Regions from separate parts of the Homo sapiens genome. Here all the other regions are linked to region 1. Evidence: promoter capture Hi-C in 16 types of primary human blood cells and fetal thymus (Javierre and others, 2016). All regions are on one chromosome and are shown on one strand. Each heading gives the region's core, a stretch centred on a gene start or on the middle of the fragment in contact. The rest is flanking DNA. Distances are from core to core; before and after follow the strand shown.

The links. Contacts are between HindIII fragments. The CHiCAGO score rates a contact against its expected background, and 5 or more counts as called.
Region 2: a fragment that was not itself captured here is called in contact with the fragment with the promoter of MTARC2 in region 1 in 2 of 17 cell types (M1 macrophages and M0 macrophages); the score reaches 5.6 in M1 macrophages.
Region 3: a contact is called between the fragment with the promoter of BPNT1 here and the fragment with the promoter of MTARC2 in region 1, in 1 of 17 cell types (neutrophils). The highest score is 6.3, in neutrophils.

What each region holds. Positions count from the first base shown.
Region 1 is chr1:220,745,603-220,749,571 of GRCh38, reverse strand. It overlaps MTARC2 (mitochondrial amidoxime reducing component 2), which reads right to left and starts at 1,250. Exons shown (of 8, transcript NM_017898.5): 1 at 769-1,250. The coding sequence starts at 1,040. It overlaps LOC124904516 (a long non-coding RNA gene), which reads left to right and starts at 757. Exons shown (of 2, transcript XR_007066884.1): 1 at 757-1,753; 2 at 2,809-3,969. The HindIII fragment of the contact is 9,208 bases long and covers 1-3,969 here.
Region 2 is chr1:220,227,748-220,232,074 of GRCh38, reverse strand. The region is part of intron 2 of RAB3GAP2 (RAB3 GTPase activating non-catalytic protein subunit 2); the gene reads left to right. Among named protein-coding and RNA genes, the nearest start is that of SNORA36B, 29 kb to the right of the region's middle. The HindIII fragment of the contact is 1,096 bases long and covers 929-2,024 here.
Region 3 is chr1:220,088,347-220,092,768 of GRCh38, reverse strand. BPNT1 (3'(2'), 5'-bisphosphate nucleotidase 1) reads left to right here and starts at 2,981. Exons shown (of 9, transcript NM_006085.6): 1 at 2,981-3,083. RefSeq lists an enhancer at 2,681-2,870. The HindIII fragment of the contact is 18,631 bases long and covers 1-4,422 here.

The DNA of each region.
Region 1 (3,969 bases), core at 1-2,500:
GTAATCTCAGCTACTTGGGAGGCTGAGGCAGGAGAATTGCTTGAACTTGGGAGATGGAGGTTGCAGTGAGCTGAGATAGTGCCACTGCACTCCAGCCTGAGCTACGAAGTGAGATTCTGTCTCAAAAAAAAAAAAAAAAAAAAAGAAGAAGGCATCTTAATCCTAAGTATGAAATGTCTATGTGTCAGGCCCAAAAGTCCCAAAGTTCCAGGCTGTGAACAACTCTGCCTATGGGAGAAGGGGGGACACTATTCCCTTAATGGCAAGTATCACCTCTGCCCCAGAGTCCCCATGCCACTTGCTCATCCTTCATCAAAGTGTATCAGGCCTCCAGGGCACCCCCAGGATTGGAGAAATGTGAGGAACAAGGCCCAGCAAGGCCTAAGCCAATGTCCTTGAACAACACTTGGTTTCTTTCTTGCTGCTTTCTAGTGCCAATAGCTTTATTTTTCTACTTTGGTATACTAGGATAGAATCACAAACTTTAGAGCTAAGGAGACTTGGAGATACAGGTCAGACCCCCTCCTGTTACAGAGGAGGAATCTCTCGTCTAGGGAAGGGCAAGGGATTGCCCCTACCTACTTTACCAAAAATAAACCTGGCATGAACTTGGCCTTCCCAGATAAACGACCAACGGCCCAACAGTCAGCCCAGAAACTCAGGTGGCAAACCTCTATAGTCCTTCCCAGATAGATCGGGCCCCACCTGCCCCCCCGCTCCTCATCCCAGGCAGGCTCCGCGCTGCCCCGCGCCCGCGCTGTGCTGTACCTGTCCCGCAGGTTGCCGCTGCGCAGCCCCATGGCCGTGCACTCAGCCTCGCTCACCGGCACCCCTTTGCAGGATTTCACCGGGTAGATCCAGAGCTTCGCCACGGTGCCCACCTGCTGCAGCCGCCGGCGCCGCCTGGGCCATGCGCGGCGCCAGGCGACAGTCCCCAGGGCCACGGCGGCCAGTCCTAGCGCGGCGACCCCGAGCCACCTGGGCCAGGGCCGGGCTGGGAGGCCGAGGCGGGCCAGCGCGGAGGAGCTGGAAGCGCCCATGGCAGAGCGAGGGCGGGCGCGGACCGGCGCACAGACCCGGCAGCGACCGGAGACCGGGAGGACGAGGAGGCCCTTAAGGATCCGGGCAGGCGAGAGGAGTCAAAGTTGACCCAACTACGGACCCTCTCACACTTTCACCGCCGAGACGGCAGAGCAGTTCCGCGGAGAGCGGGAATGCCTTAATGCGGTGACCAAGCCTGCGCGGTAATGGAGGAAGACAGGCAGACAGCGGCGGGGGTACCCTGGGCGCCGTGGGAGCGACGCCGCCCAAAGCAAGCGAGCTAATGGGGCGGCCTCTGGGGTGGTCAGTGTCTCCTCCCTCTTCCCCGCCCCTACAACACGACAGTTACCCATGCAACATGACCTTCAGCGCCAGCACTCTGCCACCCCCTTCTCTGCTAATACTGCACGCTTAGTCGCTCGACAAGATCACCGCAGAACGTGAAGGCGGGTTGCCCAACGGAGGATTTACAAACATTTGGGAACGACTTTTTCTGGCAGGTCGCTGTGAGAACTGCAGGACTTTCTGCACACAAAGACACAGTCTAAACCTCTGCACTCAAAGACGAGGAACTCTAGCGTGGCTTATAGGAGCATGACTCAAGGTCCCCCACCCTCCGCTGCCGCCTAACCTCGACCCCAGTAAAATGTCTTCCCGAGAAAGCTCAAGGCAGCCAGGAGAATTCCCCGTTTATTCTAGCCAACACCCGATGGTAAAGCCCCTGACCTCCCTTTTTTAGGATATTTTCTTAAAAGGGCTTACAACTGTGAATCCTTTCTCTGTTGCTTTGAGATGTATATGTATCGCCTACACCTCAGAAGTGTCTTTCTCAAGGACCTGAAAGCCATTGCTCTGAAATGCAGTCATGGGGAGGATAGGCCTCTGTCCCCCAGTCTCTGTGGGAGGATAGAATCCCAGCTTCATAACGGCCAGCTCCAGGCACAGCTGCCCGTCATTAATACTGACCGCCCCTTCATGATTTTTCACTTGATCCCCTGCTAGCTTCCCGGCCCTATTCTCTCCTTCACCCTTTAAAACGCCCATTCTGCTATGCACAAATGAGAATGATCAGCTTTTTCTCCTACTGTAAGTAGTTACTGAGTAAAATCTGTTTTCATGGTTTAACTAATGTCTGGCTTTGTTGATCTTTAACACCTCCATTCAAGCAAGCTATTGGGTTAACAGTGGATTTTCTCAGACAAATTAAGGTTTGAAGTCTTTCAAGTTTTTTGTTGTTGTTCTGTTTTTCAAAAGTTTGTCCCTTAAACTGTGGCACAGTTCTAGGAAAGTTTAAGGAGGCCAACCAGTGGGCCACCCCCCAAATCTGGGCTGGCCACCTCCAGAGAAAGGGGCCCGTTCTGGAGTGTGGGAAGAGACTCCGGGAAGGATGGAGAACCAGAGGAGCCAGGTTCCCTTTGGCTGTTCCTTGTGAAAAGTGAAAGACAAAACAGGGCCTGAATCTCTCCCCACCCAGGAAAAAACCTCAGGCCAGCAGAATTAGTCCCTCAATCCCCATACATTTACATCATGCTTGGCAGCTGCGACTTATGGATTTGTTTTTTAAGCATGGTGTGGTGAATGTGATGTGTGTACACTTGTAGCTGACCCCCTTTGCCTCTCCCAACTCCTGAGGAGGGTCAGAGTCCTCCCTGCCCACAAGCCTGCTGTCAGAGTGAGGGGCTTACAAAGCCATCGCCTCGCTATACGTGAGCTCCCAGACAGGGCAAATGTCTTATTGATTAATCATCTCTTTCTTTCACCACATAGATATTGATCATTCACCAGGCTTCGTCCTAGATTGGCACTGGGGATTTAAAGTTTAGAAGAAGCTGCCCTTCCATCCAGTTCACTGACTCCCCAGAAGACTGACACCTCCCCTGCAAGTCTAGAGGATAATGTCAGAGGAGAAGCAAGGTCAAGATGCAGAGGATGCAGAGGCAAAAGAGCAGCTGAATCTCAGGACAGTGCTGTTTTCAGAGGGCGGAGCTTTGGAGCTGAGACTTGAACATGAGGAGGGGCTTGGAGATGGGTAAAGGAGAGGATTCTGGGCAAAAGGAGCAGCACGTGCAATAGCCTGAAAAAATGGAAGGAACAAGAGAGTGTGGCATGTTTGGGCAACCACCAGCAATCCAGCTGTATTAGGATGTACCTGTGCATGCAGCAGGTGGCGGGAGTTGAGGCAGGACAGGTGGGCAGAGGTCAGATCAACAGGCATCTTATCTCTACTTAATGTGGAGACACCTCAGAATTCTGAACAACAGTCTGGCATGATTAGACTTGGGTGCTAGGAAGGCCATTCTGGCTGCTCTGAGAAAGAGTAACACCAAAGATGGTTAGATGAGTTGCAAATGCCCTAGTTCAGGCTGATGTAATTCCAAATCAAGGAAAAATAACAGTGGGGCTGGAGATAGACATGTGGTTAGGAGAGATGGTCAGGGGACAGAATTAACAAGAGATAGTGATGACAGAACACAGAGCCAGAGGGAGAGGAAGAGCCCACGGGGCCTCCTGGCTCTGTGGCATAAAAGTCTGGGGTGGGATGGGGGTACCATTCTCAGAGATTAAGAATTCAAGAGAAGCTGGGCACAGTGGCTCACACCTGTAATCCCAGCACTTTGGGAGGCCGAGGTGGGCGGATCAGGAGGTCAGGATATCGAGACCATCCTGGCTCACATAGTGAAACCCCGTCTCTACTAAAAATACAAAAAATTAGCCAGGCATGGTGGTGGGCATCTGTAGTCCCAGCTACTTGGGAGGCTGAGGCAGGAGAATGGTGTGAACCCAGGAGGCGGAGCTTTCAGTGAGCCGAGATCGCGCCACTGCACTCCAGCCTGGGCGACAGAGAGAGACTCCGTCTCAAAAAAAAAAAAAAGAGAATTCAAGAGAAGAAGATAGTCTGGGAAAAAAGATGATGAGCCTATTGTGAAC
Region 2 (4,327 bases), core at 227-2,726, 520 kb after region 1:
AACAAGGCAGACAAAGTTCCTATATATGTTAGTATATTTTCACATATGAGTAATAAAAAAATCTAACTTTAATTGGCTTAAATATGAAGAAAATTTATTCGCTTACATAGAAGGAAGTCCAAAGATAGAATGGAATCCTGGGTTGGTTGATCAGGCAATTCAAATATGTCAAGTTATTTCATTCTGTCTACTTTGTATATGCAGTGTTGGCTTCATCCTAATGCCTGTTTCATTCACAGATGTAGTGTGGACAACATGTTTCTTCATTAATGGGTAGAGGGAGAAAAAGACTTGGGCTTTTCATGACTCTTTCAGGAGTTAGGGAGCTACTTTCTTAGACGTCTCTAGCAAACTTTTCCTTATGTCTTCTTGGCCAGGATTGGGCCACATGCTCATTTCTGAACTAATCACTGGCAAGGGATATGAGATATTCATTGTTGAATCATATTATTCCCTGGAGTTAGAGGATAAGAGGGTCAGCTTCTCCTGAGGCCCATGGCCACACGGAAGGAGTTGATACCTGAACAAAATCAGGATTTTTTTTTTAAGAAAGAAGAATGAATATTAGATAGGTCTTCTTACAGTCCTATTTCTGGGAGCTTACACTCTATGAGAGGGAGACATAAAAAAGAAAGATGGATGAAAAATAATTCAAATGGTAATGTGATAGCAAGTGACTGCTATAGATTGGGTGGTTAAGGAAGTTTTTTCAGAGGCTGTGACAGTTAAACTGAGATCTAAAAGGCAACAGGGAGTCAACAACATGAGAATCTGACAGGATTCTAGGCCAGGGCAGCAGCTCATGCAAAGTCTCAAGGCAGGAATGGGCTTGAGAGTTTGAAGGGACATAAAGAAGGCCAGTGTGATGTAGCAGGACTGAGACTGTTCCAAGATGGGGCAGAGAAGAAAGCAGGCCAGATGTCAAGCTTTGTGAATTTGGTGTTTATTCTAAATGCAATGGAAAACCACACTTACCTGATTTCTGACTTTGACAGCTCACCTTGGCTGCTCTATGGAATAGGTTGAAGTAGGGAGCAAAAGTAGAAGCAGGAAGACCAATTACAAGGCTGTTGCAGTAGCTTAGTTGAGAGATGATTGTGGCTTTGATTAAGGTGGTATTAGTGAAGATGAGAAATGGATGAATTCTGGATAATTTTCAGAGGTAATGATAAGACTTTCCAGTGAGCTGGTTATGAAGGATGAGAGGAAGGTGATAAATCAATAATAAATTCTTTGATCTGGGGTGTGGTGTGAAATAGATAAAACACGATTGTTGAAAGGTTGATATTCTCAAAAGGTGAGTAATAGATGCCATTCTCTTTACTTTTGTTAATATTTTTAAATATCCATAATAAGAAGTTTTTAAAAAACCCTGCCAGATATTTGGCTTGAATAACTGGAGGGATGTTGTGTCATACCCAGTTGGGGAGGATGAGGAAAAGAACAGCTTTGGCAGAGAAATCAGAGAGCATCATGTGCTAAGAAGTAGAGATATGCTCATGTAATAGAGATGTATGGAAAAACTCCATGAGGAGATTAAGAACAGGAAACCATTTCAGAAGACCTCTAGGAGAATTAGGATGTGTTGAATAGGATAAAATGCAGCTCAGGGAATTTGGTTACTGCAGCACCTCCGCGAACAACACCTGGTCCTCTTTCTAATGCTATGTCAAAATGGAGCCTCAGCTATTCTGCTTTTCCTAAGACTGACTGGTTGCTGCTTACTCCGGATTTAAACTATTGCATGGCTTTTGCTATGTCTCTTGTTTGTGGTTGTCTTAGATTATTTCTCCTTCTTTGTTTCACATTCAGAGCTCATGTGAAGATTTTACTGAGTCTGTGGATTACAACCTAATATAGGATATTTGGGGAGGGGGACATACTGTTTACACCAGGCCACTTCATGGGACATCAGCAGCTATATTATTGCTGCCTCCTGGTCAGGCATTCATCAGCAGTTTAATTCGCTATGGCAAGAATGAGGAGGGGAGGGAAGGAAAGGAGGGGGTTTGTGTAAACAAGCTTGGAGATTCTTCATGATTCTAGGAAAGTAACCTTTCAGAAAGGGATGTGCTTGGAGAATTTCCCAGAAAGAGATAGTGTAAATGGCACTTACCTTACATGTGCTATTTGGTAGACTTTTAGTATTTGCTTTCTGAAATCATGTAGCTAAGTTACCACTATGAATAACGTAAGAGACTTCCAAGTAAGTTTGAGGTTTTCTGGAATAAACCTCACAGGCATTGCATACTAAAGTGGACACATGCATTTATAATTTCAGAAGAGGTTCCAGTGTGACAGTTATTATTACATATATAGAATAGTGCTGGTGCTGAGCTATAGTATAATATTTCAGACCCAGATGGCCACATCTTAATGAGCCCACTGATACATACTTGGCTTTTTCTGTAATGGATTTTTGTTAATATTTGTGAATGACATAGTTAGGCATTTGTGTGTGAGGCAAGTTGTCCTTAAAGATATCTACTAATTCTTCCCTGATAGTATTAATTGGGTTAGTTTAGTCATAATGTGCCACAGACTTGCTTTTTGGCTCATCTAAAATGTGCCTTCCTAAGGGTGTGCCGCTTTATGGCATTATAACCTAATGAGTAGAAAAGAAGGAAAATGTGCTATGCAATGGGGTCAGAGAAGCAAGTAGGCCTGATATAAGGCTTTATAAATTTGGAATTTATTCTAAACATGATCAGAAACCACATTATCTGATTTCTGGTTTTTCAAGCTCACCTTGGCTGCTCTGTGGAATAGATGCAGTTAGTTTTCCTTGTATTTTTTTCTTAATTAGCTATATTATTCTTTTATTTTCTTCTTAATTAGCTGTATTTCTCATACTCATGAGGGTCGTGTGCCTCTTTATTTTGCAGTATTTCATTTTGATGTGCCACTATTGCAGCTGATTCTGAGTGACGTGGACAATGATAGCATAGTTAGAATGCATAAGTGTTAACACATTTCCTTTATATCTGACCTGTAAAGCATGTCTTCTTTTTTCAGCAAGGATATACTAAATCTAGGGATAACCTAAATCGAGGGATCTCCAGGGATAAATGTAAGGATCTTTTAAACAATGTAGTTAAAAGCTGAAAGATGCTTCTACTCATTCTAAAAACACATAAAAATACTGACATGTAGAACATTTCTTCATTTGGATAAAATCGGAATATTTACAAATGGCCCTAATGGATGAGAGTAGCTTGGTGTTCTTTGTCTTGATAGATTTGCTCATACTGTGACTTGACAAACACAGCAAGTGAAAATTGTTGATAGACCTCATTCACAACCATTTTGGGTGTACCAATTATTTCTAGCTGTTCTTATTATCCATTTTTGAACCCCTGTACCTTGTCATGGGTCATGTGTACATGGTGAGGGAGAATGCATTTGGGTGACAGTAAAGGTAGGCAGGTACAATGAAGTTCAGAGGTTATCTAGTTGTTCAAGTTATCCTGGTTGTTCAAGAGAGCCTCTTTGAATTTGGATCCTTTCCTTAAAAGACATCTTTGCTAAAGGAGACTGGTGGGTGGGAACAAAAACGGCACTATGGTCAGGGTAAGGACTGTGACCTCTCCCTTGAACAGCAGCATCAACCAGAACTTTCCATATATAGCACTATTATGAAGTTTTGCTGAGCAAAATGTTTTATACCAGGACTATTAGAAATCTACTCAGCTGAAGTAAGAGACTCTTATTTCTACTACCATCTATGATTATGAACAACTCCAGAACTATAACCAGCTCCAGAGGCAAGAATTAGAATAAATTTTGGCAGATGTGTGAAATGTAAAAGTATATGCTCTAGTTGCCTAGTTAGAATGTAAAGGAGTGGAAAGAGAACCTTTTACTCTCTCTTATTAGGAACAGATACCAAGCTCAAAACCTACCTCCTCTGAGAGTCTGAGTCTTATCCACATTAAAGAAGGAACCAGGTTTGGAAGAAGTGGAATGTCTTGAAGTCAACTTACAGTGTGTCAAGGCGTTATAATTATAAAAACAATTATAGAGGCCAGGCGCGGTGGCTCACGCCTGTAATCCCAGCACTTTGGAAGGCTGAGGCGGTCAGATCACTTGAGGTCAGGAGTACGAGACCAGTCTGGCCAACGTGGCAAAACCCTGTCTCTAACTAAAAATACAAAAATTGGCCAGGTGTGTTGGCACATGCCTGTAATCCCAGCTACTTTGGAGACTAAGGGAGGAGAACTGCTTGAACCCGGGAGGCGGATGTTGCAGTGAGCCGAGATTACACCACTGCACTCCAGCCTGAGCAACAGAGTAAGACTCTGTCTCCAAACAAACAGACAAACAAACA
Region 3 (4,422 bases), core at 1,732-4,231, 660 kb after region 1:
AAGAAAACATTTGCTACACATTAAAAAATAATAATACACAAAATGCATAAAGAGCTGCTACAGATCAAAAAAACAAATGTAAACAACCCAATTTAAAAAAAAAAAAGGATAAAAGAAGCTGGACACAGTAGCTCATGCCTATAATCCCAGCACCTTAGGAGGCTGAAGTGGAAATATCACTTGAGCCCAGGAGTTTGAGACAACCCTGGGCAACATAGGGAGACCCCTATCTCTGAAATAATTTTTAAAATTAGCTGGATGTAGTGGCATGTGCTTGTGGTCCCAGCTGCTTTGGAGGCTGTGGTGGGAGGATCGCTTTAGCCCAGGAAGTCAAGGCTGCAAGTGGGCCATGATTACACCACTACACTCCTGCCTGGGCAACACAGTGAGAGCCTGTCTCAAAATAATAATAATAAAGCAAAAGAAATGAACAGTCAACTCAGAGACACAGAAGTGGAAACAGCTAATAAACATAAAAAGATCCTCAACTTTAGGAGTCATGGGAATAGACAGTTAAAATACCATTTTCTTTCCAGCAGATTAAAGCAAAAATAAAGAAGTTTGATAACAGGGCTTGGGAGAATGTGTGAAAGTGGACTGCTGATGGTAGTGTTAAATAGGTACTGTCGGCCAGGTGCGGTGGCTCATGCCTATAATCCCAGCACTTCGGGAGGCCAAGGTGGGTGGATCACCAGAGGTCGGGAGTTCAAGACCAGCCTGACCAACATGGAGAAACCCCATCTCTACTAAAAATACAAAATTAGCCGGGTGTGATGGCGCATGCTTGTAGTCCCAGCTACTTGGGAAGCTGAGGCAGGAGATTTCCGAATGGCAATTTAGCAATATCCATCACCATTTAAAATGCGCTTCAGCTGGGCGCGGTGGCTCACGCCTGTAACCACAGCACTTTGGGAGGCTGAGGCAAGTGGATCACCTGAGTTCAGGAGTTCGAGACCAGCCTGGCCAACCTGGCCAACATGGTGAAATCCCGTCTCTACTAAAAATACAAAAAATTAGCCGGGAGTGGTGGCAGGCGCCTGTAATCCCAGCTACTCTGGAGGCTGAGGCAGAAGAATCGCTTGAACTCAGGAGGCACAGGTTGCAGTGAGAAATCAGGCCACTGCACACCAGCCTGGGCGACAGAGCGAGACTCCATCTCCAAAAAATAAAATAAAATGCACTTCATCTTTGACCCACGGTTTCACATCTGGGATCTATCACAGCTATAGTCTTCCAGGAGCACAAAGATATATTTACATAGAAACTCTCCTAACCAACCTCTACATAACTTGCTGAATTCAACTATGCCGTTTTCTCGTAAAACCTATGAGAGGATACAATGAACACTTGGGAGATGGCTACTCTTTAGGATGACTGCAGATTTCTATTCTCACTTGTTGAGCTTACCTTGCATTATGTTTGTCTTTATTTAAGCCATTTGTACTTGTCATGTAATTATACAATTTAATTATAAAAACCAAAGTATGGCCAGGTGCAGTGGCTCATGCCTGTAATCTCAGCACTTTGGGAGGCCGAGGCGGGCGGATCATGAGGTCAGGAGTTCGAGACCAGCCTGGCCAACATGGTGAAACCCCGTCTTTACTAAAAAAAAAAAAAATGCAAAAACTAGCTGGGCTGGGTGGTGTGCGCCTGTAGTCCCAGTTACTCAGGAGGCTGAAGCAGGAGAATAGCTTGAACCCTGGGAGGCAGAGGTTGCAGTGAGCCGAGATCAAGCCATTGCACTCCAGCCTGGGCGACAGAGTAAGACGCCGTCTCAAAAAATATATATATGTATATATGTGTGTGTGTGTGTGTGTGTATATATATATATATATATATATATATATATATATATATGGTTAAAGTAATATAATTTAAGTTATGTATATTTTTCCACTTCCCAAAAAGGGTCTACTTAACTCACAGAGTTATTGTGAAAATCAAATGAAGACGTAAAAGCCTTTTTAAGCTGGGCGCAGTGGCTCACACCTGTAATCCCAGCACTTTGGGAGGCCGAGGTGAGCAGATCACCTGGGGTCAGGAGTTCAAGACCAGCCTGGCCAATATGATGAAACCCCGTCTCTACTTAAAAAACAAACAAAATTAGCCCGGCGTGGTGGCGCGCCTGTAGTCCTAGCTACTTGGGAGGCTAAGGAGGAAGGATCGCTTGAACCCAGGAGGAGGAGGTTGTAGTGAACCTAGACTGCGCCACTGCACTCCAGCCTGGGCGACAGGATGAGACACTGCCCCCTTCCCCAACCACGCCCCCCAGTAAAAGATCCCATCTGTACACAAAAAATATTTTAATTAGCTGGGTGTGGTGGCGCGCACCTCCACCAGTAGTCCCAGCTACACGGAAGGCTGAGGCGGGAGGATGGCTTGAGCCTAGAAGTGGGAAGGCAGCAGTGAGCCGTAATCGACTCTGGGCGACAGAGCAAGCTATCTATCGCTTAAAAAAAAAAAAAAAAAAAAAAAAAAAAAGGTAAGCAAGCATCTTTGACACAATTCTGCATAAAGTTGCTGTGTTATTGCGTGGGGAGTGGGAGGTGGAGGTGTGTGTGGTGGACCTGCTGAAGCCTGTCCACGGACCGCTAGGGGTTCGAAGTTAAATAGCCGCAGAGTGGTATCACTAATACAAAGAACATTTTAAAACAGTGAACTCTACGAAGTGGGCTGGAAGACAGCTGAAACCAAAACCAATCTTTTTTTTGTTTCAACACACTGTTGCTGGCTTAATGTGTTCTTTCCTTCTTCTTTTTCTTTTTTTAGCCAATCTTTGAAAGTTGACACATCTTTCGCTTTTATTTAATGCAACAGGTGACTTGCACCTACGGAGAGCTTGGAGAAAACACGGACAAGTGGAATTTTCCCGCGGATCAGGAGTCTAAAGAGGCAGTGTGAAATCGCTGTTGTGCGCTTGCGCGCAGTTTCCCGCATGCTCAGTAGCTGAGGTAGGGATGCCATCCTTCTCAAAAGACTTATTGACAGTGCCAAAGCTCGGTACTGGACACAACGAGGGACCTGGGTCTACGATAACGCGCTTTTGCTCCTCCTGAAGTGTCTTTGGTCCAACGTTGTTCCAGGTTTGTCACCGTTTCTCTCCGGCCGGTCAGGGCAAGAGCCAGGTAGATAGGATTTATGTTAAAAAAATAAAACGAAAAAGGTTTATGTGAATCAGATTGCTTCTCCAGATATTCTAACTTCCGACTTGGACTCTTGAGTGTCGATATTTTAATTGTTTATCTGTGCTTTTATTTTCGTGATCCGGAAGGTTTTTATAGCCATATACTGTAGAAACAAGACAAACCTAGACATTGAGTTTGTTGATGCACCCAAATTTAGAAACTGCTTGGTACCTAAAATTAAATTTCTTTAAACAGCAAATATTCTTCCAACTGCCATTTCTACATATTTATAGGTTTGCGTGATTTATTTGGATTTCTCTGTAAATATAATTGTTGGTTCAAAAGATACGTACTTTATACTTTTATTAAGGTTCTCAAAACTCTCCTAAGAGGGTTCACCGCTTTGCCAACAATGCTCAGGAACATGTTCCCTCACACCCTTGCAAACTGGACAAAGGACAAACTCTTCTTCTTTCTTCTTTTTTCTTCTTCTTCTTCCTCCTCCTTCCTCCTCCTTCTTTTTTTTTTTTTTTTTTTTTTTTCGAGACGGAGTCTCGCTCTGTCGCCCAGGCTTGAGTGCAGTGGTGCAATCTCGGCTCACTGCAAGCTCCACCTCCCAGGTTCACGCCATTCTCCTGCCTCAGCCTCCCGAGTAGCTGGGACTACAGGCGCCCACCACCAAGCCTGGCTAATTTTTTTTGTATTTTTAGTAGAGACGGGGTTTCACCGTGTTAGTCAGGATGGTTTCGATCTCCTGACCTCGTGATCTGCCCGTCTCGGCCTCCCAAAGTGCTGGGATTACAGGCGTGAGCCACCGCGCCCAGCCTTTCTTTCTTTCTTTTTTTTTTTTTTTTAAGACAGGTTCTAGCTCTGTCCCCCAGGCTGGAGTACAGTGGTGCCATTATGTCTCACTGCAACCTTGACCTCCCAGGGTCTGGTGATTCTCCCACCTCAGCCTCCCGAGCAGCTGGGACTACAGGCATGTGCCACCACACCATCTAATTTTTGCATTTTTTTGTAGAGACGAGGTTTTGCCATGTTGCCCAGGCTGGTCTCGAACTCCTGAGCTCAAGCAATACACCAGCCTTGGCCTCCCAAAAAGTTCTAGGATTACGGGTGTGAGCCACTGCATTCAGCGACAATTTTTTTTTTTTTTTTTTTTTTTGAGTCGGAGTCTCTGTCGCCCAGGCTGGACTGCAGTGGCGCGATCTCGGCTCACCACAACCTCTGCCTCCTATGTTCAAGCAATTTTCCTGCCTCAGCCTCCTGAGTAATTTTTGTATTACTATGCCTGGTT